Regions from separate parts of the Homo sapiens genome. Here regions 1, 3, 4, 5 and 6 are each linked to region 2. Evidence: promoter capture Hi-C in 16 types of primary human blood cells and fetal thymus (Javierre and others, 2016). All regions are on one chromosome and are shown on one strand. Each heading gives the region's core, a stretch centred on a gene start or on the middle of the fragment in contact. The rest is flanking DNA. Distances are from core to core; before and after follow the strand shown.

What was found. Contacts are between HindIII fragments. The CHiCAGO score rates a contact against its expected background, and 5 or more counts as called.
Region 1: a contact is called between a fragment that was not itself captured here and the fragment with the promoter of OPTC in region 2, in 15 of 17 cell types (naive CD4 T cells, naive B cells, total CD8 T cells and 12 more). The highest score is 26.3, in naive CD4 T cells.
Region 3: a contact is called between a fragment that was not itself captured here and the fragment with the promoter of OPTC in region 2, in 4 of 17 cell types (M0 macrophages, endothelial precursors, M2 macrophages and 1 more). The highest score is 8.6, in M0 macrophages.
Region 4: a contact is called between a fragment that was not itself captured here and the fragment with the promoter of OPTC in region 2, in 10 of 17 cell types (naive B cells, naive CD4 T cells, activated CD4 T cells and 7 more). The highest score is 9.1, in naive B cells.
Region 5: a fragment that was not itself captured here is called in contact with the fragment with the promoter of OPTC in region 2 in 4 of 17 cell types (M0 macrophages, M2 macrophages, M1 macrophages and 1 more); the score reaches 6.7 in M0 macrophages.
Region 6: a fragment that was not itself captured here is called in contact with the fragment with the promoter of OPTC in region 2 in 2 of 17 cell types (M0 macrophages and endothelial precursors); the score reaches 6.9 in M0 macrophages.

What each region holds. Positions count from the first base shown.
Region 1 is chr1:203,266,417-203,271,111 of GRCh38, forward strand. LOC124904486 (a long non-coding RNA gene) reads right to left here. Exons shown (of 2, transcript XR_007066798.1): 2 at 698-4,695. Among named protein-coding and RNA genes, the nearest start is that of LINC01353, 18 kb to the right of the region's middle. The HindIII fragment of the contact is 1,041 bases long and covers 2,656-3,696 here.
Region 2 is chr1:203,492,517-203,497,563 of GRCh38, forward strand. It overlaps OPTC (opticin), which reads left to right and starts at 1,637. Exons shown (of 8, transcript NM_014359.4): 1 at 1,637-1,701; 2 at 3,449-3,720; 3 at 4,461-4,599. The coding sequence starts at 3,490. RefSeq lists a silencer at 1,130-1,358. The HindIII fragment of the contact is 16,129 bases long and covers 1-5,047 here.
Region 3 is chr1:203,624,495-203,629,194 of GRCh38, forward strand. ATP2B4 (ATPase plasma membrane Ca2+ transporting 4) reads left to right here and starts at 2,338. Exons shown (of 21, transcript NM_001684.5): 1 at 2,338-2,725. RefSeq lists enhancers at 1,332-2,206, 2,207-3,079. The HindIII fragment of the contact is 359 bases long and covers 1,640-1,998 here.
Region 4 is chr1:203,249,788-203,254,248 of GRCh38, forward strand. No RefSeq gene overlaps it. Among named protein-coding and RNA genes, the nearest start is that of CHIT1, 22 kb to the left of the region's middle. The HindIII fragment of the contact is 808 bases long and covers 1,054-1,861 here.
Region 5 is chr1:203,745,049-203,749,857 of GRCh38, forward strand. No RefSeq gene overlaps it. Among named protein-coding and RNA genes, the nearest start is that of LINC00260, 17 kb to the left of the region's middle. The HindIII fragment of the contact is 925 bases long and covers 1,389-2,313 here.
Region 6 is chr1:203,728,354-203,732,876 of GRCh38, forward strand. All of the region lies in intron 20 of ATP2B4 (ATPase plasma membrane Ca2+ transporting 4), which reads left to right. It overlaps SNORA77 (small nucleolar RNA, H/ACA box 77), which reads left to right and starts at 1,228; the gene lies at 1,228-1,352. It overlaps LINC00260 (long intergenic non-protein coding RNA 260), which reads left to right and starts at 2,224. Exons shown (of 1, transcript NR_046213.1): 1 at 2,224-3,500. The HindIII fragment of the contact is 1,248 bases long and covers 1,689-2,936 here.

The sequences.
Region 1 (4,695 bases), core at 1,926-4,425, 220 kb before region 2:
ACACCACATGTTTCAGAGAGCACCGGGTTGGGGGTAAGGTTATAGATTAACAGCATCCCAAGGCAGAAGAATTTTTCTTAGTACAGAACAAAATGGAGTCTCCTATGTCTACTTCTTTCTACACAGACACAGTAACAATCTGATCTCTCTTTTTCCCCACATTTCCCCCTTTTCTATTCGACAAAACCGCCATCGTCATCATGGCCCATTCTCAATGAGCTGTTGGGTACACCTCCCAGACGGGGTGGCAGCTGAGCAGAGGGGCTCCTCACTTCCCAGACGTGGCGGCCCGGCAGAGGGGCCCCCCACCCCCCAGACGGGGCGGCCGGGCAGAGGAGCCCCCCACCTCCCAGATGGGGCGGCTGCCGGGCGGGGGCGCCCCCCCATCTCCCAGAAGGGGCGGCTGGCCCGGGTAATTTTTTGTATTTTAGTAGAGACGGGGTTTCACCGTGTGGCGTAGGCTGGTCTCGAACTGGTGAGCTGAGGCCATCTGCCCGCCTTGGCCTCCCAAAGTGCTGGGATTACAGGCGTGAGCCACCGCGCCCGGCCTAAATGTCTTAACATCAAGAATAAGGCCATATCGATCAATAAGATACATGCATACTATTTTGCCACCTCTCACTTTTTATTAATAGTATACTCTTTCTTTGCTACCTCCCAGTTTTTGTCAAAGTAAATTGTGATACAAAAACCCCAATTTATAATCATGAAATATTTATTATATTTAATTTTAATAATAATGATTAGTTTCATATTATATTAATTATAATTATTTCGTTCATTTAGTTTTATTGATTTGATTGTTCTTTGCCTTTTCTTTTACATTTTTTCTGTTGAATTATTTATTTTGATTCGTTTCTTAGCTGGCAGGACTATGTCCTCAAGTACTATTTTTCAAAAAGGGCTTATAGAAGAGCTCTCCCATCCTCAGTGGAGTTGGCTAACATCCTGTACCAGTTACCAGTTTATTACTCTCTGGCTCCAAACGTTTCTCCCTTGCCAGCGGGCACAGTGTTAAACTGTGTCAGTAGAGGGCGCTAGAGGACAGAGAGAAGAAGAGACTTCTCTTGCGGTTTCTTTAAGCTTTCCTTCCTACTTGCTTTCGGGACTCTGAACCCCCGGGGTTCTCAGCTCAGTTTCAGGGCACTTCCGCAGGCATCTTCACGGCTAGTTCTGTGGGTGTCCCACTTAGTTTCCCAGTGGCGAGTTCAGCCGCACCGTCTTGGGTGGATTCCTGGTGGAGCCGACTTGACCCAGCCAGTTTCCTGCGAAGTCCCGCATGCGCACTTCCCCGGGGGCAGCTTCCCAGCAAGTTCTGCGTGAGTCCTAGGTGGCTTTGCCATGAGTTCAGCGCATCCCCCAACAGCAACTTCCGGAGGAATTTTGTGGGCACCCCAGCAGGGGGCTTCCAGCCCCTGAGCCGTGGCCTGCCGTTCTCTTCCCCACAATGTTCGCTCTCTTGACTGTGGCCCGGTTCTGTCCAGGGACAACCCAGAGAACTCTTCTGCCCTCAATGGGCTGCAACGCACTTTCTCCAGCAAGGACTGAACCCCAGTCTCGGAGAGCTAGGCTTCTTCACGTTCGTTCTTTCTTTTTGGGTTCTCCCCCACCCCTGCGAGATCATCTAACATTCCTCTTTATTCCCACTGCACCATTAATTTCTATCCTGACTGATTCACAACCCCGAGTTCCGAAGCAAGGGCAAGCTGTGGGGCGCTTCTTGCCGTCTCTACTCAAAACGGAAAAAGCTGGCCAGGCGCGGTGGCTCACGTCTGTAATCCCAGCACTTTGGGAGACTGAGACAGGAGGATCGCTTGAGCCCAGGAGTTCAAGATCAGTCTGGACAACGTAAGGAGACCCTGTCTCTTCAAATATATATATATATATATATATATATATATATACACACACACACACACACATATACATATGTGTATATATACATATATATGTGTGTATATATATACACATATATGTGTGTGTATATATGTATATATGTATATAATTATATATGTATATATGTGTATATATACGTATATAATTATATATACACACATATATGTGTATATATGTAAAATTAGCCAGGCATGGTGGTACGTACCTATGGTCTCAGCTACTCAGGAGGCTGAGGCAGGAGGATCGCCTGAGCCCTGGGGTGTTGAGGCTGTGGTGAGCTGTGATGGTGCCACTGCACTCCAGCCTGGGGCAGGGACTGAGACCCCATCTCAAAAAATAAAAATAAAAAGAATGGAAAGAACCAATGAAATCTTGATGCTATTAACACCTCTGAATATTTCACTGGTTTCTAGAATCCACACAAAACAGGAATCCTACAGAATGATGGCTTGCAGAGGACATTGTAACAGGGCAGTCAAACCAGTTGGAGAAGTGTGCTCTGTCCTATAAAAACGTGCTCCTTCCTGACGTCTACCCCATGTTGGTGGGCCCATGATCTCCTCCTAGACCTCTCAGCTGAAATCAGTCCTGTCCCTGTGTTTGGTGTCCTTCATACCCTCTCGTGGCTGCCTCCCTGCCACGGCCCTGGCTCAGGCCCTGGTCACCTTGCCTAGGGTAGTGGCTTCCCTGGGAATGCCATCTCCACTCAATACTCCTTCTGGTGCTAGAGTGCCCTGCTCAAGGCCTCACCTCCCACGAAGCTTCCTGAACAGCTTAACTCACTGTTTCTTCCTGTTCTGCCCTCTCCTATTATCTGTGCAAATCTGAAGGCACTTTCTGCTCTGTCATGTACCTGATCTTTCCTGCCAGCCTAGACTGCTTTGATGAAAACTGCATCAGATAGCAGAGGAAACACTTATTTGTATGGAAGTGGCGTCCTCTGCTGGTAGAAGTATGTAATGACTGGAACTTTTCCCTAGCTGTGTAAAGGACCCTCACTGCCCAAAGCTGAGACAACCAGTGATACCCAAGGAAACCCAGCTGCCCTTCTCTCTGCCCACCCCAGTCCCTAAGCATGTAAAATTCAATCCACTGACTCACTCACCAGATTTCCACACCTCACTATTACACTAAGATGTTCCTGATGCTCCAGTCTCATGGATAATGGCAATCTTTAACATTAATTGGATATGCACTGTATATGCCAGGCACTGGGCTAATCTCTTCATCTGTATTATATTATTTAACCCTCATAGCAACTTTGTACGGCAGACAAGTGGACCAGATTCCTTAAAAGCAGAGCCTGGGACAGATTTCATGCATATCTTCTTCTGTTGGGGAAGAACCCTCAGAAGAAAGAAAAGGAAGGAGAGTGGGGTGGGGAAGGAGGGAGCCAGGCTGTGGTGTCAGCTGTGGCTGAGCTGCGGCCTGATTTCATGGGGATCCCTGAAGCATGTGCTACACCAGAGTTCATCTTGTCTTGAGGTCGGGGACTGGCCTTTCCTGCCCCTGTGTCAGACAAGCATCGGCTGCAAGCCCCAAGTAAGGCAGCTTCCATTCCCGGGGAAGTCTCTGCAGAGGGAATAACTGTGAACTGTTACCAGCCAAACCTCACAGCAGCCGGTGGGCAGGGATGGAGGGTTGCACCAGACCAGTAAAGGGGATTTGGCTGGGCACTAATAGCAACCATGGTACTGTTATTTCTACTGTACAAATGCAGAATTATAATCTTCCAGGTTTGTAGATACTTTATAGATTTTGAGTGTTTTCATATTCATTACCTCATTCAATGTTACAGTAAGCTTGAGAGGTAGTGATCATGATCCCCACTTTATGAATGAGAGTGAGAAGTGGGAGACTTCCTCAGGATTGTCCAGCCAATAAATACCTTCTCTGTTTATAAATAGCGTCTTCTCAGATACATAGGCAGCTGTATTGGGTCCCAGTCCAACCTCTTCCCTGTGACATTCAGGCTCTGGTCGTTTACCAAGGATCTTACAGCCCTTTTAACTCAAAAGAGCCATGAAGCTGGCAACCTTCCTTGCTGAGACTAGGTACGAGGATACACCTCCTATCAGGTGAGGCCTTACCTTGCCTGCCTGACACTTTGCTGGGCTCAGAATGCTTCTCCAAATTCCCCCATGGAAAGAAGACACCCGGGCACTTCTCACCTGCTCCTGCTTCTGCAGTTCCCTTGGCAGTTTCCTTAGAGGTGTCCCAGCAAGCTAGAGTCTGTCAGAGGACATTGAGGGCCAGGCCAGAGAAGTTTAGAAAGAGTCCCAGGACTACCTGAGCACTGCCTTCACCTGCCACAGGGGTAGCTGTGCAGCCAGTCTTGTGGCAGAGGCTGGGGTTTCCTGGATCTTAGAAGTGTCACCTCTTCCACCCTCTCAGGGCCCTGGACTTTCGCCCTCAAGCTGCCTCTGGATCTAGCAAAGGCCCTGAGCCATCTTTGGAATGGATGAGTTCGAAAAGCTGCATTAGAGTGGCTCCCCTCCTTCAACGCCACCTCATCAGAGTTCTAAGGGATGCTTCACACCTAAGAGCTGATGAGGTACAGCAGGAGCACACAGGGGACCCAGAAACCTCGCATTGTGTTGAGAAACAGCTGACTGACTCAGGTTCAAATCCCCCACTCTATCACAGGGCATCTCAGTTAAGATGAGGTAGAAATGAGAGTAACAGAAAATTCACAACAGCAGCAATTGTGTTGTTATTGAGTGGCCCTTGCCCTCATGGTACAAGGTAGCACCTGCCTACCAAGTAGCAAAACAGAGGGAGGGACAAAGAAGAAGGAGC
Region 2 (5,047 bases), core at 387-2,886:
AGCTGGAGCCCAGGAACACAGCAAGCCAAATGCTGCCCTCGAGGGCCAGGCTATTAGATCTGCCTCTTCACCTGGTGTGCCAGGGCAGAGATGAGTTCTGCCAAGCCATCTGCTCTGAGGGCCTGGAAACACACGGATTCAGGACTCCTGGGGAAGAAGGTGGAAATGGGGAGGGTCATATGAACTAAAGAAAACTCTCTGACCAGGGAGTCAAAAAATCTAGGCATTGGCCCTGGCTCTGTGTGACCTAGGGCAAGTCACGTCACCTCTTTGGGCCTCACTCTCCTCATCTATACCACAAGGACTTGGACTAGATCTTTAGGGGGCCTCACAGCTGGAATTCAGTATCTGGTTGGTGGAAAGGAGTAGGGAACAAGGAGAGTCACTGAGAAACCTGGGTGGGCGCCAGGGCACAGGCTGGCAGAAGCTGGGGAAGACTCCTTAGCCACCCCACCTCTGCCTTCAGCAAGGACTTGCTCGGCAGCCTGCTCGAGGCACCAAGGAAAGGGGAGTGTTTCCAGATGAATGCCGTTGGCCCTCTGTATCTGTGGGTTCCACATCCGTGGATTCAACCAACCACAGATTGAAAATATTCAGAAAAAAAAAAAATTCACAACGTTCCAAAAAGGAAAACTTGAATTTGCTGTGTGCCAGTACTATGTGGAATCCATGTGAATGGAGTGAGGTGTAAGCATTGTGTTTGGTGTTATAGGTAATCTAGAGATGATTTGAAGTACACAGGAGGATGTGCGTAGGTTATGTGCAAATTCACCATTTTATATAAAAGACCTCAGCATATGTGGATTTGGTATCCACTGGACGTGCAGAACCAATCCCCCATGGTTACTGAGGGACGACTGTACATCTCTGAGGGTGCGGGAGAGGATACTTCCCAGGCCCCCGAGACCCTACACAATGTCTACTGGTGTTTATGATCCTTTCTAGGGCCCACCTCCCAATTTCCATTTGGTTTCCTCCTAGCAGATTTAGAGAATTTCCCGTATCCTCATGATCATCATCTGTGAACTTGAAGTTGGCTTTCAAATCCGATCTCATCCCCCATACACCTTCTCTTTGAACTACCTAGGCCTGCAGCTCCTGTCTCTGGTGATTTTATTCAATTATGGTCTCTGTGCTGGCGCTCTAGGTGAGGGTGAAGTGCCTCATTTCCACCTATTTTTATCTTTGGATTCTGGCTATGAAGCTGAAGCCTTGTCACTCTCTGGCTGGAGAAAGAAGCTGCAAAGACAAGCTCTATCTCTCCATATCCCCCGACTCCAGCCTTCTCTGAGGACTCAGAATCTGAGGGATGGGGCCCCTTCCTTGCAGGGGATGGCACTCCCTGTTCCTCAAAGATGTGGCCTTATCAGGAGAGTGGACAAGGAAAAGAAAGAAGGAGCTGACAGAGTAAGAGGAGAGAGAGCAGGAGCTGGAGGTGGGGGGTGAAGCGGAAGGTGGGGGGAGAATTCTCTTTTGTCAAATACAGGAATGGGGCAGGGGACCCCCTGAGGAAAGAGGAGGGGAAACAGCTGGACATCAGAAGGAATGAGAAGTCTGATTGGTCGCAGGCCTGGCCAACTCCTTGCCCTCCCCCGGGCACCACTGTCTAACCCAAGCCCCAGTTCAGACAGCCTCCACCAGAGTCCCCACCTTTCTGGAAGCTGCAGGGCTCTCCATCCAGGATCCAGAAGCATTGAAGGGGTAAGGCTCAAGGTTGAGGCCTCTGGCCATCGGTGCGCAAATGAGGGCAAAGTGTTTGGCTGGGGCAGGGGATTGGGAAGGGAAAATGAAGAGAGTTTAGGCCTCTGGCCAAAGAAGTTGGACAAGACTTTTGGGTGGGCACTAAACTCTCTTAGAAAAATTTTTTTTGAGATTATGTAATTCGTTTGGGGTGAGGTATGGGAGGTAAGGTGAAGAAACACCTCTTGCTACTGCTAGAGGCTTGCCCCCTTGCCCAGCTAAAATTAAGAAAGGGTGGGGAGGTTAACTGGGCATGGTAACACACGCCTGTAGTCCCAGCTACTTGGGAGGCTGAGGCAGGAGGACTGCCTGAGCCCAGGAGGTTAAGGCTTCAGTGAGCTGAGATCATGCCATAACACTCCAGGCTGGGCAACAGAGTGACACCGTCTTAAAAATAGAAAATAAAATAAAAATTAAAAGATAAAAAAAATTTTAAAAGAAAGAAAGAGGGAGAGTCTACTAGAAACTTGTGCAGCTAGCTTTGGGGAGGGCTGTGTTAAGCCTACACTGGGTATGACTGTTGTATACACTTATGCCTGGATACAAAACCACACCACATGCATTTCCTGACCCGTCTATACATATACGAACTACATGAACATTTGTACTCACATGCATATCACATACATACGCAGGCATCTGTGTGCACACACACACAAATATACACAGGTATCTAAGGAAATTTCCAGATGCGTACACACTCATGCAATCACACACAAAGAACTCTTTTATCTGTAATAATCTGTTTCTAAAAAGCTGCATTTAGAAGTATATTTCATAAACTAACATTCTTTTTTACATTGTATGTTTCATTGTAAGTCCATGTCTCCTAAAGAGACTAGGTGCTCCTAGGAAGGGCTGTGCCTCATTCATTCTGTACCCACAGAGACAAGTCCTGTGCCTGGAACTCAATAGACACCCATAAATGTTTGTTGAGCAAATGCATGAATGGATGATCTTTATAAAAAACCACAAGAGTCAACTGGGCGCGGTGGCTCACACCTGTAATTCCAGCACTTTGGGAAGCCAGGGTGGGTGGATCACCTAAGGTCAGGAGTTCGACACCAGCCTGGCCAATATGGTGAAACCCCTTCTCTACTAAAAATACAAAAATTAGCCAGGCATGGTGGGTGCCTGTAATCCCAGCTACTCAGGAGGCTGAGGCAGGAGATTCGCTTGAACCCAGAAGGCGGAGGTTGCAGTGAGCCAAGATCGCACCACTGCACTCCAGCCCGGGAAACAAGAATGAAACTTCGTCTCAAAAAAACAAACAAACAAAAAGACCCCATAAGATTATTTGATGTTGACATTCTCTAAATCGAGCTTAGTGACTAGCAGTCATGTTCTGAGCATGGGGTTGTTTAAGAGAGGACATCTGTGTGCATGCACCAGTGTGTGCCTCGTTTGTAAACAAGGGGACTCTTGTGAATGTGTCTGTGTTGAGATGTGTCTGCACATGCCTCTGTGAGTGAATATCAGTGTTTGGGTGAGCGTGTAAAAACACTCAAGTGGGGCGGTGGAGGGAGGGGGCTGCTAGGAGATACCCCCCAAGACATAGTCCCAGCTGGTAGGGAATTTGTGCATGTGATGAGAGCACTGAGTCTGCAAGTGTGGGGGTGGGAAGTGGAGTAAATCTGCGAGCCATTCCCACAACACTCTGGAGAGCCTGTCCCTCAGATCGCTGCCCTTCCTCGTGCCCACTTGCCAGGACCAGCCGCTGAAGGGATTCTCAGTCCCATCTGACTCCCCATGAGGCTCCTGGCTTTCCTGAGTCTGCTGGCCTTGGTGCTGCAGGAGACAGGGACAGCTTCTCTCCCAAGGAAGGAGAGGAAGAGGAGAGAGGAGCAGATGCCCAGGGAAGGCGATTCCTTTGAAGTTCTGCCTCTGCGGAATGATGTCCTGAACCCAGACAACTATGGTGAAGTCATTGACCTGAGCAACTATGAGGAGCTCACAGATTATGGGGACCAACTCCCCGAGGTGAGGGACACAGCAGACCAACTACATTCCCTGCATGACACTGGGAGTCAGAGGCCAGGGCCCTCCCATCTGCCCCAAAGTGCGGGTGTCTCCAGCCTCCACCTCTTTCTCTGTGAGGTGGAAATTCTTATCCCTCCATAGGGACTTGTCACTTAGATGATACTAAGAAACAGGACACAAACCTGGGACTTCTCCTTCTTCAAAACTCATACTTGCCTCCCCCTGCCAAAGCTATGTCTCACTGGGGGAGGGGTTCGCAATGTCCTCATCATATTCTCTAGGAAATAAAAGTGCCACATCCCCCATCTCTTTTCTGAAACTGTCCTCCAGTCTGAAGTTCTTTCCCAGGTCCTCTTGGCCTTCACTGCAGCAGCGTGGGGTGCAAGCCCAGAAGCCCCTACTCAATTGTGCGTGAGCCTGGTCGGTGTGGAGCAGGGGAAGAGTGCCGGCCTGGGAAATCGGGAGAGCAGGTTTCGTCTCTGCCTTGACCACCTGCTGGCTCTTTGATCCTCATCCCTCTCCTCTCTGGGCCCCAGTTTCTTCATCCATAGGATGGACATGCTGGACCTGATGCTCTGTCAGGTCCCCTTTTTGCACAGTCTTTCTGCTATCCTTCCCTCCTCCTCCTCCACAGTGACTCTTTGCTGGTTTGAAATCCATCACTGAGGTTCCCAGAGTCCAAAGTTAAGTCCCTTTTGTGCAAAAGCTGGGCTACTGTGTACTCTGTGCTACATCTCCAGGTTAAGGTGACTAGCCTCGCTCCTGCAACCAGCATCAGTCCCGCCAAGAGCACTACGGCTCCAGGGACACCCTCGTCAAACCCCACGATGACCAGACCTACTACAGCAGGGCTGCTACTGAGTTCCCAGCCCAACCATGGTAAGTGCACAGTCACATGGTCGCAATATCCCTAGGTCATAGGCCAAGCAGCTATGACCCAGCACCAGGGGGTACCAAAGTGGAACGTGGTTGGGGTTGGGGCATGGAGGGTCAGGGCTACCCTTACTAGCAGGGAGAGAAGGGGAAATAGCCACAGTAAGAACAGGAAAAAAGAAATCAAAGACTGGCACTGGCTGTCCCTAATACTTTTGCCTGAATGTACAAGTTGAGTAAGAAGCAAAGAAATGCAAGAACTCCCTTATGCCCTAGCAAAGCCACCCTGCCTTAATTAATAGCATGACGGGGGAAGCAGGTTGAGTGGTAATTAGATTACAGACAATTAAAAGCCTGTAGAGAAGAATAACTAACTTTGTGGCTGTCACTTGGCATGGGAGCAAATGAAGCAGTCACACTGCTTTTCAGCTTCAAAGTCCCTCCTCAGCAGCTC
Region 3 (4,700 bases), core at 569-3,068, 130 kb after region 2:
GAAGAGGGAGGGAAGAGGGAGGGAGGAAGGAAGGAATCTAACAAGGTACTAACTGTTCTTGAAATGCCCTGGGAAGGTGGGAGTGACTAGAGGAGTTGCAAGAGGCTGAAATGAGAACAAAGGTCACCTTTAGTGTCCTGTAAGTGCCTTGAGTGTCAGACAGTCAATCACTAGACAAAAAAGACCAAACAATCCATAGTTCCCATAGAGGGTGACCCTAAAATCTCCCCTTACCCCTGCAACTTTCTTCGGCTGCTGGCAGGGAGAGGCACAAGCACAGGCAGGGGCTTATTTTTTTTCTCTTGTTTTTAATTTTTTTGTAGAGATGGGGTGGGTCTTGCTATGTTGCCCAGGCTGGTCTTGAAATCTGGCCCCAAGTGATCCTCCCTCCTCAGCCTCCCAAAGTACTGGAATTACACGGATGAGCCACTGTGCCTAGCCAGGGCTTATTTTGGATTTTGTTTTCAGATGACAGCAGGCAATCTCCAGCCTCACATTGATGAACTCTGAGTTCTGAGCCCAGCCCAACCAGTCTAAAAACATTACTGGCCGGGTGCGGGGGCTCACGCCTGTAATCCCAGCACTTTGGGAGGCCGAGGCGGGCAGATCATGAGGTCAGGAGATCGAGACCATTCTGGCTAACATGGTGAAACCCCGTCTCTACTAAAAATACAAAAACAAAATTAGCCGGGCGTGGTGGCAGGGGCCTGTAGTCCCAGCTACTCGGGAGGCTGAGGCAGGAGAATGGCGTGAACCCCGGAGGCGGAGCTTGCAGTGAGCCGAGATCACGCCACTGCACTCCAGCCTGGGCAACAGAGCAAGACTCCGTCTCAAAAAAAAAAAAAAAAACCATAAAGAAAAAAGAAATAGCAGGGTAAGAAAATGAAGAGGAAAAAGAGGACCCAAATGAGAGAACATTGGGAAGGGTGCTAGTTGGACACGGGGGAAACTGGACCCCGTTTCACAACCCTGTTTCTCCATGCACATGTGGCTCTGCTTCTTGGGGGCAGAGATGACAGCAAAGAAGGACAGGGGGTGGTGTGAGCTGTTGGGTTAGAATGATAGGATCAAAGAGGCCTTTTCCCAACCCTCTGTTTAAAAGGTTGGGAAGTAGTGGCCAGTCACCTTCTTCACAGCATAGCTCATAGCTATAACCTGTGAGACATATGTCAATGTGCCTTCCATAAGCATATAAACATGAGTGTGTTTGCTGAGGTAGGTGTGGGAATCTGTCAGTCAATGAAGATATGTTGTGTGAACCAGCTGATGGTGCATGTTTGTGCTTGAAAGCCATAAAGTTCTATGCAAAATCTATGGGTGGCACTGTTGCACAATGCTAGTGGGTGTGTGGGTATGGGGGTGTGATTAACTGTTTACAGGCTGTGTATAAGTGTGCATGGATGTCTGAGTGTGTGCAAATTAAAACGGAAATATGTGCCGGAGTATGATACAAAGTACAGGAAAGTACTCGGGCTTTGGAGTCTGTCTGACTTGGTCTTGAATCGTTGGCTCTGTCATTAGCCGGATGTATAACCTTGGGCCAGACACTCAATCTTCAATTCCCTCAACTAGGAAATGAGGTTAATAATAAGTACCTTTCAAGATTAAATGAGGACTAGAAACGATACCATATAGACAAAGCTTTTGGTGTCATAGCCCACGCATAGCAGGACTCAAAAGTAAGCAGCTATTTTCATGCACTGTCAGTATACCTCTGGTGGGTACAGGGACAAGAGGGAACAAAATGTGACCTGTATATAAGGTGTAGGGGAGGACGGGTGTGTGTGTGTGTGTGTGTGTGTGTGTGTGTGTGTGTGTGTGTGTGTTTACAAAACAATTTATTCTCCTTCTCCAAGGAACCCCCTATTCAGACAGGAGCAGGAAGGTAGGAGGGGACATACAAGTGTCCACAGACACCTCGGGTTTCTGGGTCCTGGATCTAAGTGAGTAAGGGGTTGAGAGGCCCGTAGGAGCTGCAGGAAGCCAGCCGCCTGCCCAAGCTTCCTTTTTTTTCCCCTCCGCCCAGCAACCGTTGAATACCGCCACCCACATCCACTCCCCACCTCCACCCTCACCCCTCCTCCACCCCTACTCAGCTTTCTATTCAACAAGTGAGAGCAAGGGCGGGGAAGAAAGCCGACAGGGGAGAGGATTGCTTCCCTTTCTTTTCCCATTCCCCCTTAAGACGAACCAGGAAGTAACCGCAAGAATCGGGCCACCTTAACAGTAGAGTAATGGTTTGGCCTCGCGCCAAGTCCCACCTCTGTTCCAGCTCCTGCTCCTCCCCTCTCTCTTCCCGCACTGCTTGGGGAGAGCTGGTGAGCAAGAGTCTGGCCCGAGTTAGCTAGAGCTGTTGCCATGACAAGCATTTTCTTAAGAAAGCTCTGCTGTTGAGATCGTCCAAAGCTGGGGGCTGGGAGGGGGGGCACGAACTTCGTGGGGCACCATCCCTCCGAAGAGAGCAAGATCAGAGACACCCGCCCAGCTCTCCTGCACCCTTTTTCTTTCAGGAACCTGAGAGGTCCTTCCCATTGGAGGGGCAGGGGGAGGAGACCCAGCCCACTCCCCGGCCTTAGCCAGAAAGGCAAGAGAGCAAAGCCAGCGTCTCTAGCTTGGTTGCCACACTGGGGAGACTGGTGGGTGGTCACCCCACCCTACCCTCATCCATGGAAACCCGGAGGGAGAGTCCCGCCTGAAGAAACCTGGATCTTTGCTAGAAAGAGAGGTAGGCTTGCAGAGAATGAATTGACTTGTGATTTGCAAACTTTGTTTCTTTCTTTTCTCTCAATGGCTTCTAAAACTCCCCGATTTTCCTCTTTCTAGAATATTTCATGCGACTGGGTTTGGAGGATTTTTTTTAAAATATGTGTGTGTGCACAGATTTGTCAAATACTGTTTTACCTATTATCAGTTCTGAGAAACCATATAGTCGAACAAGTGATTTATCTCTCTTTTCCTAGTTCTTGTCATTCCTGGGCTATGGGGTAGGGTAATGGAGGGTTCTCTTTTTGACACCAAAATTGAGCTCTTGGAAAAAATATTTATCTCCCCTCCCTCAACCCATTCCGTTCCTGCCCTCCCCTTCCCCCCTTGGCTTGGGAATGAGACGCAGGATGGAAAACTGTTGCAAAAATATTTTCCGTGTCTGTTCCCTTTCTCGAAAGCCCAAAAGAGAGATGGAAAAAAAAAAAAAAAAGGAACCAAAGAAATCTTCAGCAGAAAGAGGGGCTGCAGCGGGAACTAGGAGAGGGGCACTTTGGGGCCATGGGGTGGAGGTGGGCTGGGAGAAGTTGGCAGGAGTGGGGAAGGAGAGTGCACGAATTAAATTTCTTTAGCTTTGCAGAGAAACCTCAGCAGTTTCTCTGTGCTGCTTGCAAAACATCCTCAGACTTTCACATGTATAATTAGCTGTGGAAAAAGCTGGGAGTTACCTCGTACCGCTGTTGTTTGAGTGTGTGTGAGCGTCCAGAACCAACTGTATGAGTGTCTCCGAGGGCACCGCCCCACACATCTCTGGTCCCAAAGGGGAGGAAGGAGAAGGGTGAATTGAAAAGTTTCCGATGTCGAGGCTGGACACTGTGGGGCTGGTGAGTGTTTGGCAGATGGGGTGGGCCACAGGCATCTGTGGAAGGATCCCTGAGCGTCTCGGGCCACTGCCTTGGCTTGCTGAAGAGCTAGGAATTAAGACTGGGATTGTCCTTCCTGCTCTCCCTTCTCTCTTTCTTTTACATACTTGGCTCGCTCTTGGTAGAGGGGGCTGCTGGCATCCTTCCCCGAGTCGAGTCTGGCCTCTTACACTCCTCCACCTCCCTGAGGGTACCCGCCGCTCTTCTCCAACTGGGTGTGGAGGGTGCAGGAGTGGCCAGCCGCATCTTGGGAGGGGAGTGGGCACTCTGCTGCCAGAGGCACGTCCCTCCTGGGCATTCCTGCCGGACTTAACAATAACTTGCAGACGTGATGCCGGCGCCTGCTGGCCGGGCAGGGGGAATGTCAGATGAAGAAATAGGCCGGTACTCAACTGAGGCCCCTGTGGAGAGGGGAAAGGAGTGGGGGAGGGAAGGGAAACAAAATCCCATTCTGCAGCGCCCCCCTCCTCTGTGTGAGGAGTCTGGCAGGGAGTCTAGAGACCCTGGCCCTGCTCCTTAAGCCCCTCCCCAAGCTGCCCCTTCTCCACGCGCTTCCCATTGGAGGCCCTACTACGCCCCCTCCACTCTGAGCCCTCTACCTGGAGGAAGGAGACCAGGCTCATTCCAGGCTGGGCCAGGCCCAGGAAAGCAGCCTGGGAGTGACGAGGGGCTGGGCCAGGAGTGTTTAGGAAGAAGGGGAGTGGAAGAGGCCTCCTAGCCCATGTGCTGAGTTACCCTCCTTGGCTGAGGGTGGTGGCTTGGGGAGCAGACTCTGGGAGGGGCAGGAAGGATGGTGGCAGCTTGGTAAGGCGTGTTCTGGAAGGTGGGCCCTAAACCCTGAAGCAGACAAATCTGTGGGAATCAGGCTGGGGGAGAGGAAACACCTGCCTTCAGCCCCAGGGCTTGGAGGAGTGGTAAAGGCTACAGCTGAGACACTGCGGGAGAAGGAAGTAAAACACTTAGAGGAGAGCTCATCTCGGGGCTGGGGATGCAACAGGAACGATTTGATTTTCACTTTGAGGTGTTGATTGATCTGACTGCACCCCTCGGCTAGACAGCTCTTCCCTACCTGTG
Region 4 (4,461 bases), core at 208-2,707, 240 kb before region 2:
GTGAAGTGCCATCCTCATTACATCTCATTAAAAATGTAGGTATTATCTGCTGGATGCAATGACTCACACATGCAATCCTAGTACTTTAGAAGGCCAAGGTTGGGGGGATCACTTGAGGTCAGGAGTTCGAGACCAGCCTGGCCAAGTGGATTCATAGGCAAATTCTACCAAATGCCAAACTTTCTCAAATTCTTCTAAAGAATAGAATAAAAATCTCACCCCAGGCTGGGTGTGGTGGCTCACGCCTGTAATCCCAGTACTTTGGGAGGCCAAGGCAAGCAGATCACTTGAGGTCAAGAGTTGGAGACCAGCCTGGCAAACACGGTGAAACCCTGTCTCTACTAAAAATACAAAAATTAGCCAGGCATGGTGGCATGCACGTGTAATCCCAGCCACTTGGGAGGCTGAAGCAGGAGAATCGCTTGAACCCAGGAGGCAGAGGTTGCAGTGAACAGAAATCTTACCACTGCACTCCAGCCTGGTGACAGAGTGAGACCTTGTCTCAAAAAACTAAAACTAAAAGGTAGGTATTATCCACATAACTGATCTTTTTAATCTTGATTACCAGGCCGGGATACTATTTGCCAGGTTTCTACTTCTCCACCTGGCTTCCCTATTCTACTCTTTGGAAGCGAGTCAGTAAGTGCAGCCCACACTCTAGGGGTGAGGAGTTAAGCTCCACTTCCTTGGGGAAGAAGCAACTACATACCTTTATTATATAATTCTGTATGGGACATTTGTCCCTTCTCTCCCATTTATTTACTATATCATTTATTTATATCCATATGGACTCATAGATATTTATTTATGTTTTGAGTTATAATCAAATACTATTAGTACATTATTTATTTTGCTGCTCAAATTTTTCCAGCTTTGGCCACCGAGAGCTCTTTAATGTTGGCTTGTTTCAGTCAGCATAAAGTTTTTGAGACTCATCCATTTTGTTGTTATCAGTAGTCTGTTTCTTTTAATTGCAAGAAGTATTGTATTTTATGAATATATCCCACTTCATAAACATTGGGTTATTTCCAGTTTTGGCTATCAGAAATGCAAAGCTTCTATGAACAGTTATGTATACGTCTCTTCGTGGACATATGTTTTCATTTACTTTGAATAAATACACAGGTGTAAAATTAGAGTCATCAGCTAGCTTTATGTTTAATAAGAAGCTACCAAGCAAGCAACTTTTCAAAGTAATTGTGCCATTTCACACATCCAAGAGCAACGTGAGAGTTTTTGTTATGTCAAATGCTTGCCAACATGTGGTGTTGACAGTCTTTATAATTTTAGACATTCTAGTAGGCATGTAGTGATTCATTATGGCTTTAATTTGCCTTTGCCTGCTGAGTAATGATGTCGAGCACTTTTTTTATATGTCTTTGTCCATTCATATGTCTTTGTTTGCTTCTGAAAATGTTGCTCAAGTCTGTCATCCACATTTTTATTGTGTTAGAAGTTCTTTATTATTCTGGATAGAAATCCATATTCAGATATATGTACTGTGAATGTTTTCTACCAGCCTTTGGTTTTGCCTGTTCGTTTTCTTAGCTGAGTCTTTTTTTTTGTATTGTGGTAAAAACCACACAACATTAAACCATCCTAAACATTTTTAAATGTACATTTCAGTACTGTTAAGTATATTCACTTGTGCAACAAGTCTCTAGAAATTTTTCTTCTTGCAACACTGAAACTCTATACCTACCAAACATGAATTCCCCATCCCACCTCCCGCAAGTTCTTGGCGACTACCTTTTTACTTTATGTTTTGAGGATTCTGACTTATTTAGATACTTTATATGAGTGAATTATACAGTATTTGTCCATTTGTGACTGGCTTATTTCACTTAGCATAATGTCCTTAAGCTTCATTCATGTTGTAACATGCCCTTTTTTAAGGGCACATAAAATTCCATTATGTGCATATACCACATTTTCTTATCCAATTACCTGTTATTTCCTCCTGTTGGCTATTGTGAATAATCCTGCAATGAACATGGGTGTGCAAATATCTCTGAGATCTGCTTTGAAGCTTTTTGGCTATATACCCAAAAGGGGGATTGCTGGATCATATGATAGTTCTATTTTTAATGTTTTGAGAAACTCCATACTGTTTTTCATAACATCTGTATAATTTACTTTCCCACCACCAGTGCATGAGGACCCAAACTTCTCTGCATCCTTGTCAACACTTGTTATTTCCTGTTATTTTTATAATGGCTATCCTGATGGGTGTGAGGTGATATCTCATTGTGAGTTTTATTTACATTTCCCTAGTGATTAATGATGTTGAGCATATTTTCATGTACTTAATAACCATTCATATATCTTCTTTGGAGAAATGTCTATTTAAATCCTTTGCCAGTTTTTAAATTGGATTATTTGGGGTTTTTCTTGTTGTTAAGTTGTACAAGATCCTTATATATTCTGGATATTGACCCCTTATCAGATATATGACTTGCAACTCTTTTCTCCCATTCCATAGGTTGCCTTTTCTCTCTGTTGACTGTTACTTTGATGTGTAAAAAAACTTAAGTTTTATGTAGTACTATTTGTCTATTTTTTATTTTGTTGCCTGTGCTTTTGGTATCATATCCAAGAAATTATTGCCAAATCCAATTGTTGGCATATAATTGCTCATAATGGCATTTACATTTTAAGAAATTGCTGATAGTGAAGGACTTACTGTTGCCATTTTGTTCATTGTGTTCTGTTTCACTTGTAGCTTTCTTTGTCCCCCCCCCCTTTTTTCTTTTGATAATTTCTTTTGTGTTTCATTAATTTTTTTTTGTGGCCACAGATTTTGATTCCCTTCTCACTTCCTTTCCTTTACAGTCTTTGTCCATTTTCTGTTGCTGTAACAGAATACTTGAGACCAGGTAATTTATTTTTTAAAAAGAGGTTTGTTTAGCTCACAGTTCTTGATGCTGGGAAGTTCAAGATCAAACAGCTGCATCTGACGAGGGTCTCATGCTGTGTCATAACATGGAGGATGGCATCACATGGTGGTTATGCATGTGAGAGCACTGAGCGGGTACACACACAAGAGAGAAAACATGAGGGGTGACCTCACTTTATAACAACCCACTCTTGCGGTAACTAATCCAGTCACTGAAGAGCAATAATTCACTCCTGTGAAATGGCATTAATCCCTTCATAAGGACAGATGGCTTATGACCCAAATGCCTCTTAAAGGTCCCACCAGTTCTCAACACCATTACATGGGGAACAAGCCTTAACATGAATTTCAGTGGGGGATAAACCATATTCAAATCATAGCACTTACATTCTATAGTTACTGTCTTTGTGGTAACCATTGCAATTACGTGAAACATAACCTCTTAATGTTTTAACAATCTACTTTTAATGAGTACCATGTGGTGGTTTCCTGATTAAAGCCCCTTAATTCAGAAAAACTGCTTGCTTGCTTACTTGTTTGCCTGTTCTCTTACATAGGTGTGTCTCCATAGATAAATTAGGGGAAAATCTGTCCCTTTGTATTTCAAAAAGGGCAAAGAAAATTGTAATTAGATTTCTCCATAGACACACTCTTTCCTCCCTGGGGGAAACTAATAAGAAGAGGGTATAACACTTTCCCTAGCTAGAATTCCCTACAGAAGTTTGCCTTTGGACTGCAAAGAAAACGGCTCTTTCATTCTTAATCATCAGATAAGTAATTCAGTACCACTGGGACAATTGTAGATTCAGATCTTTTGGCAGAAGACTGGAAGAATATGGGTAATATCATAACAATCTATTTTAAGCTGATAACAACTTAGCTTCAATTGCATCTAAAACTCTGCTTCTTTACATCTCAGTCCACCCCACCTTTATGTTACTGATGACTCAAATTACCTTTTTTATATTGCATATCCATTACCATAGATTTATAATTACTTTCTATGCTTTTGTTTTTTGAATTCTATGAGATTTAGAAGAGATTTACACACATTACAATACTACAAGATTCTATATTTATCTATATATTTACCAGAGAATTTAATATTTTCTTTTTTTTTTTTTGAATTGCATTTTGTCCCTTTACCTCAACTTCAGGGACTCCCTTCAGCATTTCTTGTAGGTCAGGACTAGTGGTGATAAACTCCCTCAAATTTTATTTATTTGGGAAAGTTGTAATTTCATCTTTGTTTTTGAAGGACAGTTTTGTTGGATCTAGCATTCTTAGTTGGCAGGTTTTTTCTTCCAACACAGGCATATCTCATTTTATTGCACTTTATTTTATTGTGCTTCACAGATATTACATTTTATACAAATTGAAGGCTTGTGGCAACCCTGTGTCAAGCAAATCTTTTGGCACCATTTTTCCAATAGCACATGCTTACTTTGTGTCTCTGTGTCACATTTTGATAATTCTTAAAACATTTCAAACTTTATTATTAATAGTAGCATATCTGTTATTGTGATCTGTGATCAGTGATCTTTGATGTTACTATTGTAATTGTT
Region 5 (4,809 bases), core at 601-3,100, 250 kb after region 2:
CACCTGGGGTCGGGAATTCGAGACCAGCCTGACCAACATGGAGAAACCCCATCTCTTCTAAAAATACAAAAATTAGCCAGGCATGGTGGTACATGCCTGTAATCCCAGCTACTCGGAGGCTGAGGCAGGAGAATCACTTGAACCTGGGAGGCAGAGGTTGCGGTGAGCCAAGATCACGCCATTGCACTTCAGCCTGGGCAACAAGAGTGAAACTCCATTTCAAAAAAAAAAAAAGAAGGTCCGAGCGCAGTGGCTCATACCTATAATCCCAGCACTTCGGGAGGCCAAGGCAGGCGGATCACCTGAGGTCAGGGGTTCGAGACGAGCCTGACCAACATGGAGAAACCCTGTCTCTACAAAAAATAAATTCAGCCAAGCGCAGTGGCTCATGCCTGTAACCCCAGCACTTTGGGGGGCCAAGGTGGGCGGATCATGAGGTCAGGAAATTGAGACCATCCTGACTAACACAGTGAAACCCCATCTCTACTAAAAAATACAAAAAACTAGCCGGGCGTGGTGGCAGGTGCCTGTAGTCCCAGCTACTCGGGAGGCTGAGGCAAGAGAATGGCGTGAACCTGGGAGGCGGAGCTTGCTGTGAGCCGAGATCATGCCACTGCACTCCAGCCTGGACAACAGAGCAAGACTCCGTCTCAAAAAAAACAAAACAAACAAACAAAAATACAAAAATCAGCCGGGCGTGGTGGTGCATGCCTGTTATCCCAACTATTCAGGAGGCTGAGGCAGGAGAATCACTTGAACCTGGGAGGTAGAGGTTGTGGTGAACCGAAGTCACACCATTGCACTCCAGCCTAGGCAACAAGAGTGAAACTCCATCTCAGAAAAGAAAAGAAAAAGACTTAAATGATCTGAGATCTTATCCCCACTTTTCTTTTCTGTCCTAGGTTGCTCTCCACAGGCATTGAACACATTGCCCACTTAGTTTCTTTAAAATAGGGGATGGAGAATAAATAATGAACTTAACAAACAAAAATGAAAATAGGCTGGGCACAGTGGCTCACGCCTGTAATCTCAGCACTTTGGGAGGCCGAGGTGGGTGGATCACAAACTCAAGAGATCGAGACCATCCTGGCCAACATGGTGAAACCCCATCTCTACTAAAAATACAAAAATTATCTGGGCATGGTGCCATGCGCCTGTAGTCCCAGCTACTCGGGAGGCTGAGGAAGGAGAATTGCTTGAACCCAGGAGGCAGAGATTACAGTGAGCCGAGATCGCGCCATTGCACTCCAGCCTTGCAACAGAGCAAGACTCCGTCTCAAAAAAAAAAGAAAGAAAAGAAAGTCTGCTTTTTCCATTGTAGTTTCCCTCCTAAATACTCTTGCTGAAAAGGATGTAACACATATGAACCCCTATACGGTCCTTTCTAAAGCTTGGCCCTCTATTTCTTCTCTCACCCCCACTTTGTGTTTGTTGGACCATAGATCTGTGCCTCTCTGCCATGCCAAACAGAGGATCTTAAGGATCCACGTCTCTTAACCCCAGGATATGGTAAGGAATGGTGAAGAATGAACCTCCTACGTATCATTCTGGCAGAGACCACTATATCCTAAGGTGTTGGCTCAAGAGAATGTAAAGGCCAGCTCAGCAACTTGGACCTAGGTCACTGTATGGAAAAGAGCATACTCTGTTCTTCCATTCTTTTCCCTTACCCCAGTTCTAGAAAAGAATAATAGCTTTGCCTTCCATCTTTTCTTTTTCTTTTTTTTTTTTGAGATGGAGTTTCACTCTTGTTGCCCAAGTGGGAGTGCAATGGTGTGATCTCGGCTCACTACAACCTCTGCCTCCAGGGTTCAAGCAGTTCTCCTGCTTCAGCCTCACGAGTAGCTGGGATTACAGGCGTGCGCCACCATGCCCGGCTAATTTTTTGTATTTTTAGAAGAAACGGGGTTTCACCATGTTAGCCAGGCTGGTCTCGAACTCCTGACCTCAGGTGATCCGCCTGCCTTGGCCCCCGCAAAGTGCTGGGATTACAGGCATAAGCCACCACGCCCAGCCTGCCCTCCATCTTCAGTAATGGTTTGTGAGTCTCCCCTTTCTCCACTAGTCCATATCGTCTCCCTGCGGTCATCAGTTTGAAGCTCTCTACCAAGCCCACCTGGTTCCCCCAAAGTATACACATGACCAGGCAACTCCCTGACCTACTCTGTGGTGAATCCAAAGAAGATGACTCCTTGGGTTCCAGTGAGATATTTACCAGCCCCTGACCTGGGTTTGTTAAAGCGTGGCCTTCTTGTCACTACAAGCAGGAAGGAGAATGAGAATGGCATGTCCTTCACCAACAAATAATTGTGAAGCTTTGTTGTAAATAATACATGTAAACATGTTACCATTTCTGTGCAGGATCATTAACATCCAGTTACCTCCACCATGAACCTAAGCCATGAGAGGTACTGACCTATTAGATTCATAGACAGAAAGCTTTCAGCTTGAAAGGTAGCAGCTTCTGGGTTCTGGGCTTGCCTATGTCCTGATGTACAACCAATCATAAACAAGTCTTTACTTCTCTGACTCTTTTCAAATAATACTTTCCTGGCCCAGCATCATCTCCCTGTCCTCAGAAGACATGCACAAAACAGAGATCAGTCTCTTTAGAATGGCCTCCCGCTGCCTTCTAAAAGGCTGGTGGCAAAACAAGAATGCTAGCTCGGAAGGCAGTGGTTCATGCCTGTAATCCCAGCACTTTGGGAGGCTGAGGTGGGCGGATCACCTGAGGTCAGAAGTTCAAGACCAGTCTGGCCAACATGGTGAAACCCTGTCTCTACTAAAAATACAAAAATTAGCTGAGCGTGGTGGTGTGCACCTGTAATACCAGCTACCCGGGAGGCTGAAGCAGAAGAATCCCTTGAACCCAGGAGGCGGAGGTTGTAGTGAGCCAAGATCACGCCACTGCACTCCAGCCTTCCAACATAGGTGACAGAGCAAGGCTCCATCTCAAAAAAAAAAAAAAAAAAGAATTGAAATAATCTACATATTTGGATAGCCAGATTACAATCAGAAATTTAACTTCTGCTCATGAACTCTACGCAAAGGGGAAATAATAGAACTGTCTGAGTGGCTAGTGCCATTACACTCACAGGGCATATATCTGTCCCTACTCCTTTTTTTGTTTTTGAGACAGGGTCTTGCTCTGTCACCCAGGCTGGAGAGCAGTGGCATGACCAAGGCTTACTGCAGCCTTAGACTCGGCTCAAGTTATCCTTCCATCTTAGCCTTCCAAGTAGCTGAGACTACAGGCATGCACCACCATGCCTGTAATTTTTTTTAAGAGATGGAGTCTTACTATGTTGTTCAAGCTGGAGTCAATCACCTGGCCCCAAACTATCCTCCCACCTCAGCCTCCCAAATGTTGGGATTACAGGCATGAGCCACCATGCCTGGCCTGTCTCTACTTTAGAATAGAACTGGGCCCTGTGTTCAAGCTTAAGCATCACTTGATTTCTCTGGTGTCTCCTATAACAGAGGACATATAGACCATCTCCTTTTAGCACATTCTTTTTCCAAACACAGCACAATTGATTTAAGCTTTCTTGCTATGCTAGACCCAGGAAGACTGCATTGAAAGACTGATTTGTGTTTTATAACTCCAGATCTTCATGTCTTCACCTATTTAAAGCAAGTATATATGATAACTCATTTGAAAGAGGGAGTAAGGCTGGGAAGAGCTGGACTGGTACCTACAGATTGCCTTTAACCATGCTTAAGAGAAGAACAAATATATCCATGATCATCCAAAACCCTTTATTTAAGTCAAGAATTCCTGCATCTGACCAGCCTGGCCAACATGGTGAAACCTCATCTCTACTAAACTTACAAAAATTAGCTGGGCATGGTGGCTCATGCCTGTAATCCCAGCTTCTCTGAAGGCTGAGGTGAGAGGATCACTTGAACCCAGGAGGCGGAGGTTGCAGTGAGCTGAGATTGCACAACTGCACTCCAGCCTGGGTTACAAAGATAGATCCTGTCTCAATAAATAAATAAATAAATAAATAATAAAAATAAAAATAAAAAATTCCTGCTGGGCGCAGTGGCTCATGCCTGTAATCCCAGCACTTTGGGAGGCCAAGGCAGGCAGATTGCCTGAGCTCAGGAGTTCAAAACCAGCCTGGGCAACATGGCAATACCCTGTATCTACTAAAAATACAAAAACTTAGCCAGTCGTGGTGACAGGCACCTGTAATCCCAACTACTCAGGAGGCTGAGGCAGCAGAATCACTTGAACGTGAGAGGTGGAGGTTGCAGTGAGCCGAGATCATGCCACTGCACTCCAGCCTGGGCAACACAGCAAGACTCTCTTTCCGAAAAAAAAAAAAAAAGAGAGAATTCCTACATCTTTCCTATCAAACCTTTTGAATTGAGCTGCTGCTGCTGACCGGGTAGGAAAGGAAGGCGTTTAAATGTTTCTCTGCTTACTCTTTGATCGAGGAGCTAAAATGGCAAAATTAGAGTAAGATTCTGATGTGCAGCTGATTGGAAGGCAGGAGACACATGCCCTGACCTCAACTCTGCTTCTTGACCAGCTTGATTTCCCATGTGTACAAGGAGATCATTAAAGTACATCATTTTCAAATTACATTTTGAAGATCAGAAAGGAACTCCTGAGAGATAATTTAGGGTCGACAGGCGTTCAACAAAAATAGCACATTTTTAAAACGTTTTTGGGCCAGGCACGGTGGCTCACACCTGTAATCCTAGTTCTTTGGGAGGCCGAGGCGGGTACATCACTTGAGGTCAGGAGTTCGAGACCAGCCTGGCCAACATGGTGAAACCCTGTTTCTACTAAAAAAAAAA
Region 6 (4,523 bases), core at 1,063-3,562, 240 kb after region 2:
GATCTAAGCATTGATAATTCTGTCTTCCCCTGCTCTCACCCCCCATAGCTTTATTGTTTTAATCCTGAGATTTTCCATTTCAAAAACACTGTAAATTCCAAGATCTCAAGGGTGGTCTCCAGAAAACAGGCGTATTTCTCTCTGCTGATTGGCTAGAGATCTTCAAAATAAGTTTCACTGTCTAAAACTGGCCTTGCAAATGTTTTAGAAAGTTCCCCAGTCGGCCAGGCATGGTGGCTCACGCCTGTAATCCCAGCACTTTGGGAGGCCAAGGTGGGTGGATCACCTGAGGTCGGGAGTTCAAGACCAGCCTGACCAACATGGAGAAACCGCGTCTCTACTAAAAATCCAAAATTAGCCGGGCGTAGTGGCACATGCCTGTAATCCCAGCTACTCGGGAGGCTGAGGCAGAAGAATTACTTGAACCCGGGAGGCAGAGGTTGTAGTGAGCTGAGATTGCGCCATTGCACTCCAGCCTGGCCAACGAGAGCTAAACTCTGTCTCACAAAAAAAAAAAGACTGGGCGCGGTGGTTCTCACCTGTAATCCAGCACTTTGGGAGGCCAAGGCAGGTGGATCCCCTGCCTTAGGTGAAACCCCGTCTCTACTAAAAATACAAGCCAGGCATGGTGGCACATGCCTGTAGTCCCAGCTACTTGGGAGGCTGAGGCAGGAAAATCGCTTGAACCCAGGAGGCGGAGGTTGCAGTGAGCTGAGACCACACCATTGCACTCCAGCCTGGGTGACAGATTGAGAGTTGTCTCAAAAAAAAAAGAGAAAGAAAAGAAGTTCCCCAGTCAATCCCACCTCGTTAGTGTATAGGAGAGATAGATGGAGTGAATATTCTAAACTATATACCTGGTAGGAACTTATCCCCTATAGGCAAGACAACAAATAGAAAAGTGGAAAAGAGGCCGGGTGCGGTGGCTCACGCCTGTAATCCCAGCACTTTGGGAGGCCGAGGCTGGCAGATCATAAAGTCAGGAGTTCGAGACCAGCCTGGCCAACATAGTGAAACCTTGGCTCTGCCAAAAATACAAAAATTAGCTGGACGTGGTGGTGGGCGCCTGTAATCCCAGCTACTCTGGAGGCTGAGGCAGGAGAATCGCTTGAACCCGGAAGGCTGAGGTTGCAGTGAGCTGAGATCGCGCCATTACACACCAGCCTGGGCAACAAGGCAAGACTCTGTCTCAAAAAAAAAAAAAAAAAAGAAGAAGAAAAGTGGATTGCAGACTCACTATGCACCTGACTGTACTTCCAGGCAGGTGCTTTTTCTGTCTGCCAGAGAAACATTCCAGGGTGCTGTGGCTGCCTCACCTATCCAGGGCGATGCAGCTCCCTGGGGACACAGGTGCTTCCTGGGGAGCCCTGAGCACTTCTCCGTGTTGCTGGCCTCACATCCAATTGGGCAGGCATTGGAGTCCGGGCACTGCCTGGAGCTCACCAGAAGGTGCTTTACAGTGGTCCTTGGTTTGTCTCTCAGAGGGCTTGGTCCCCTCTGCTGTGAGGCTGGACTGCAGCTGTGGTGGCAAGTGACCAGATGTCACTGAGCAGCCTGACCATGGTCTAGGTGGTGCTTGGATGCATCCACTTGGCTTCCTTTGGTCATTGAGTTTCAAGAAGAGAAACTCCAGGAGACGGCTTGGCCAGGATCAGGCAAAAACAATCATGCCGAAAAAGTGGCAGAAAAGCTTGAAGGTCTCTCAGTGAAGGAGGAGACCAAGGAGGATGCTGAGGAGAAACAATAAATCGTCTTATTTTATTTCCTTTTCCTCTCTTTCCTTTCCTTTTTTTAAAAAAAAATTTACCCTGCCCCTCTTTTTTGGTTTGTTTTTATTCTTTTGTTTTTACAAGGGATGTTATATGAAGAGCTGAATTAAAAAAAAAAAAAAGAAGAAAAAGAAAAGTGGAAAAGGGCTAGGTAGGGAAACGCTAGGGTTCCTTTTCCCTCTCTCAAGTTCCTCCTCTCAGAAAGAAAATTTCCAGCGGGACCTACACAAAGTGCCTCGTGGCATCCAGGCATCCAGAATCCCCACGCTCACTCCCTACCCCACCCCACACTCCAGGCTGCTGACTCCAAGTACCCATAGAACCTGGCGCCTTTGGCTCCCATCTCTAAAGCCCCCAGTGCTTTCCTTTGGGTCTGCTCTTTCCAAAATAACCTGTCTTTGCTTTGTTTTTCTTCAGGATCAACCACTTCTACTATGTGATTTCTTTTCTCCTAGCCAAGATTCCCTCAGTCCAGTACCTCCTTGCTCCTTTCCAGTCTTCTGTCCTGGGAGGCTGAGATTTATGGGTCTTCCTTGCCCTCCACTACCAATTTCTATTTCCTTGACTATGCCCCTCTCTACAAGGTCTTTTTGGTTTCACTGCCTACATAGCTTTAGGTATACTACCTTTCCGCATTGTTGGAGCATGAGGCAGTTGGGCCAAAATGGCATTAAAGCCTAAAGTGAGGCATGTTCAAGATGCCACAGTGACCAAATTCACGCCATCCAGGATGCACCTGACTCTGGAAGCTGATGAGGCTAATGATGCTAACGTGTATCCTGGATCCCTGAGGTCCGCTCCCAACATCAGCCCTTCAGCCTCAGCTGGGTTCTAACAAAACCCCCTGCCACCTCCACGTTGATCTTTGTTGTCATTCTCATCGCAGTGCTTTGGTATGGGAGGTGTTAGAAAACTTAGAGACTAGAATTGTGGAGGTTGGGACCTTGTAACTCCAATAAGCACTGAAGAAGGTGTCTCTACAGTCCCTTCTTCCATGGAGCTGGAACCCCCGCACCCACCCCAAGTGTAAACCCTCTCCTCCTGCAGGTTCAAGCTCCTCAGTCCCAGGGAACTAAAACTGAATAATGTGAGGAAGCAGTGATGTTTCTGCTCAAACTGTGATCTGGATCCAGAAACTAGCCCTAAACAGCTCATGGCTTCTCAGGAAGCTTTATAAAAGGACTGTCTCACTCACATTCTGCCTACTTTCCCATCTTCCCTCCTGGGAAAATGAAGTCCAGTTAATGGAATCAGCACCTTTCCTTCATTCCTGGTAGATTAACCCTTGGCATTAAGCAGATAGATATTTCTAAGATTATTCTACCAGATTCATGAAGGCTAAAGGGAATTCCTTTTGATTTTGTCCTTGTTACTTAGGGGTCAGGGATAAGGATGGTAGAGTTGATTGAGGCCCTAGATCAGGACCATTGTCAGAAAATGAATGGCATGGCCGGGCGCGGTGGCTCACACCTTAATCCCAGCACTTTGGGAGGCTGAGGAAGGCAAATCACAAGGTCAGGAGTTCGAGACCAGCCTGGCCAGCATGGTGAAACTCTGTCTCTACTAAAAATAAAAAAATTAGCTGGGCATGGTGGCAGGTACGTGTAGTCCCTGCTACTCAGGAGGCTGAGGCAGGAGAATGGCTTGAACCCAGCAGATGGAGGTTGCAGTGAGCCAAGATCGTGCCATTGCACTCCAGCCTGGGTGACAGAGCGAGACTCTGTCTCAAAAAAAAAAAAAAAAAAAAAGGAAGGAGGGAGGAAGGAAGGAAGGAAGCTGGGCACAGTGGCTCACGCCTGTAATCCCAGCACTTTGGGAGGCCAAGACCGGCGGATCACGAGGTCAGGAGATTGAGACCATCCTGGCTAACACAGTGAAACCCTGTCACTACTTAAAATATAAAAAATTAGCCAGCCTGGTGGCGGGTGCCTGTAGTCCCAGCTACTCAGGAGGCTGAGGCAGGAGAATGGCGTGAACCCGGGAGGCGGAGCTTGCAGTGAGCCGAGATCGCACCTTGCACTCCAGCCTGGGTGTCAAAAAAAAAAAAAAAAAAAGGAAGGAAGGAAGAAAATGAATGGCATTAATTGCCTCTGTCTCTGAGGAACAGGGCACTGAAAACCAGAGGCTACTTGTGTAAGCCTCGACCTGTAGCTGTTTCAACCACCACCAACCAAAACCTCTTCCTCCCCCTCCCTCAGTCTAATTGCCGAGTTACTGTCAGCATTTCTGCCAGACATTTCAGATCTCTAATGCATTAATGCACTTAGTAGCATTCTCGATAGTGGGCTTGGCCACTGGGTTCTTGAGCTCCATTCTCAGGGAGCCTACCTACTTCAGCCCAGGGAAGGGATAGCTCAGACAAGATACCCAGAGGAGGATGAGCCCAGCAACTCATGGCCCAGGGGTCTTTCCATCATGGCCATTTGTATATTGGCTACTAAATGGCCCCTGTTTTTTATTTAAACACATGAGTTATTTTCCTGGAAAATCCGCAAAAATACGTAGTCGGTTTAATTGATTTAGAGGTTCCTGAGCCTTCAAATTCAGTAATACATAATTTGCCTTCAGAATCTTCAATTGTTTGCCTTATTTTTAAGAGTACAGGTAAAAAGGGGCCTGTAGGTGGAGGTTGCAGTGAACCGAGAGTGTGCCACTGCACTCCAGCCTGGGCGACAGATTGAGATTCCATCTCAAAAAAAAAAAAAAAGTACAGGTAAAAACAACGAACAATCGCTGTCTAGCTGTTAGGAGTGA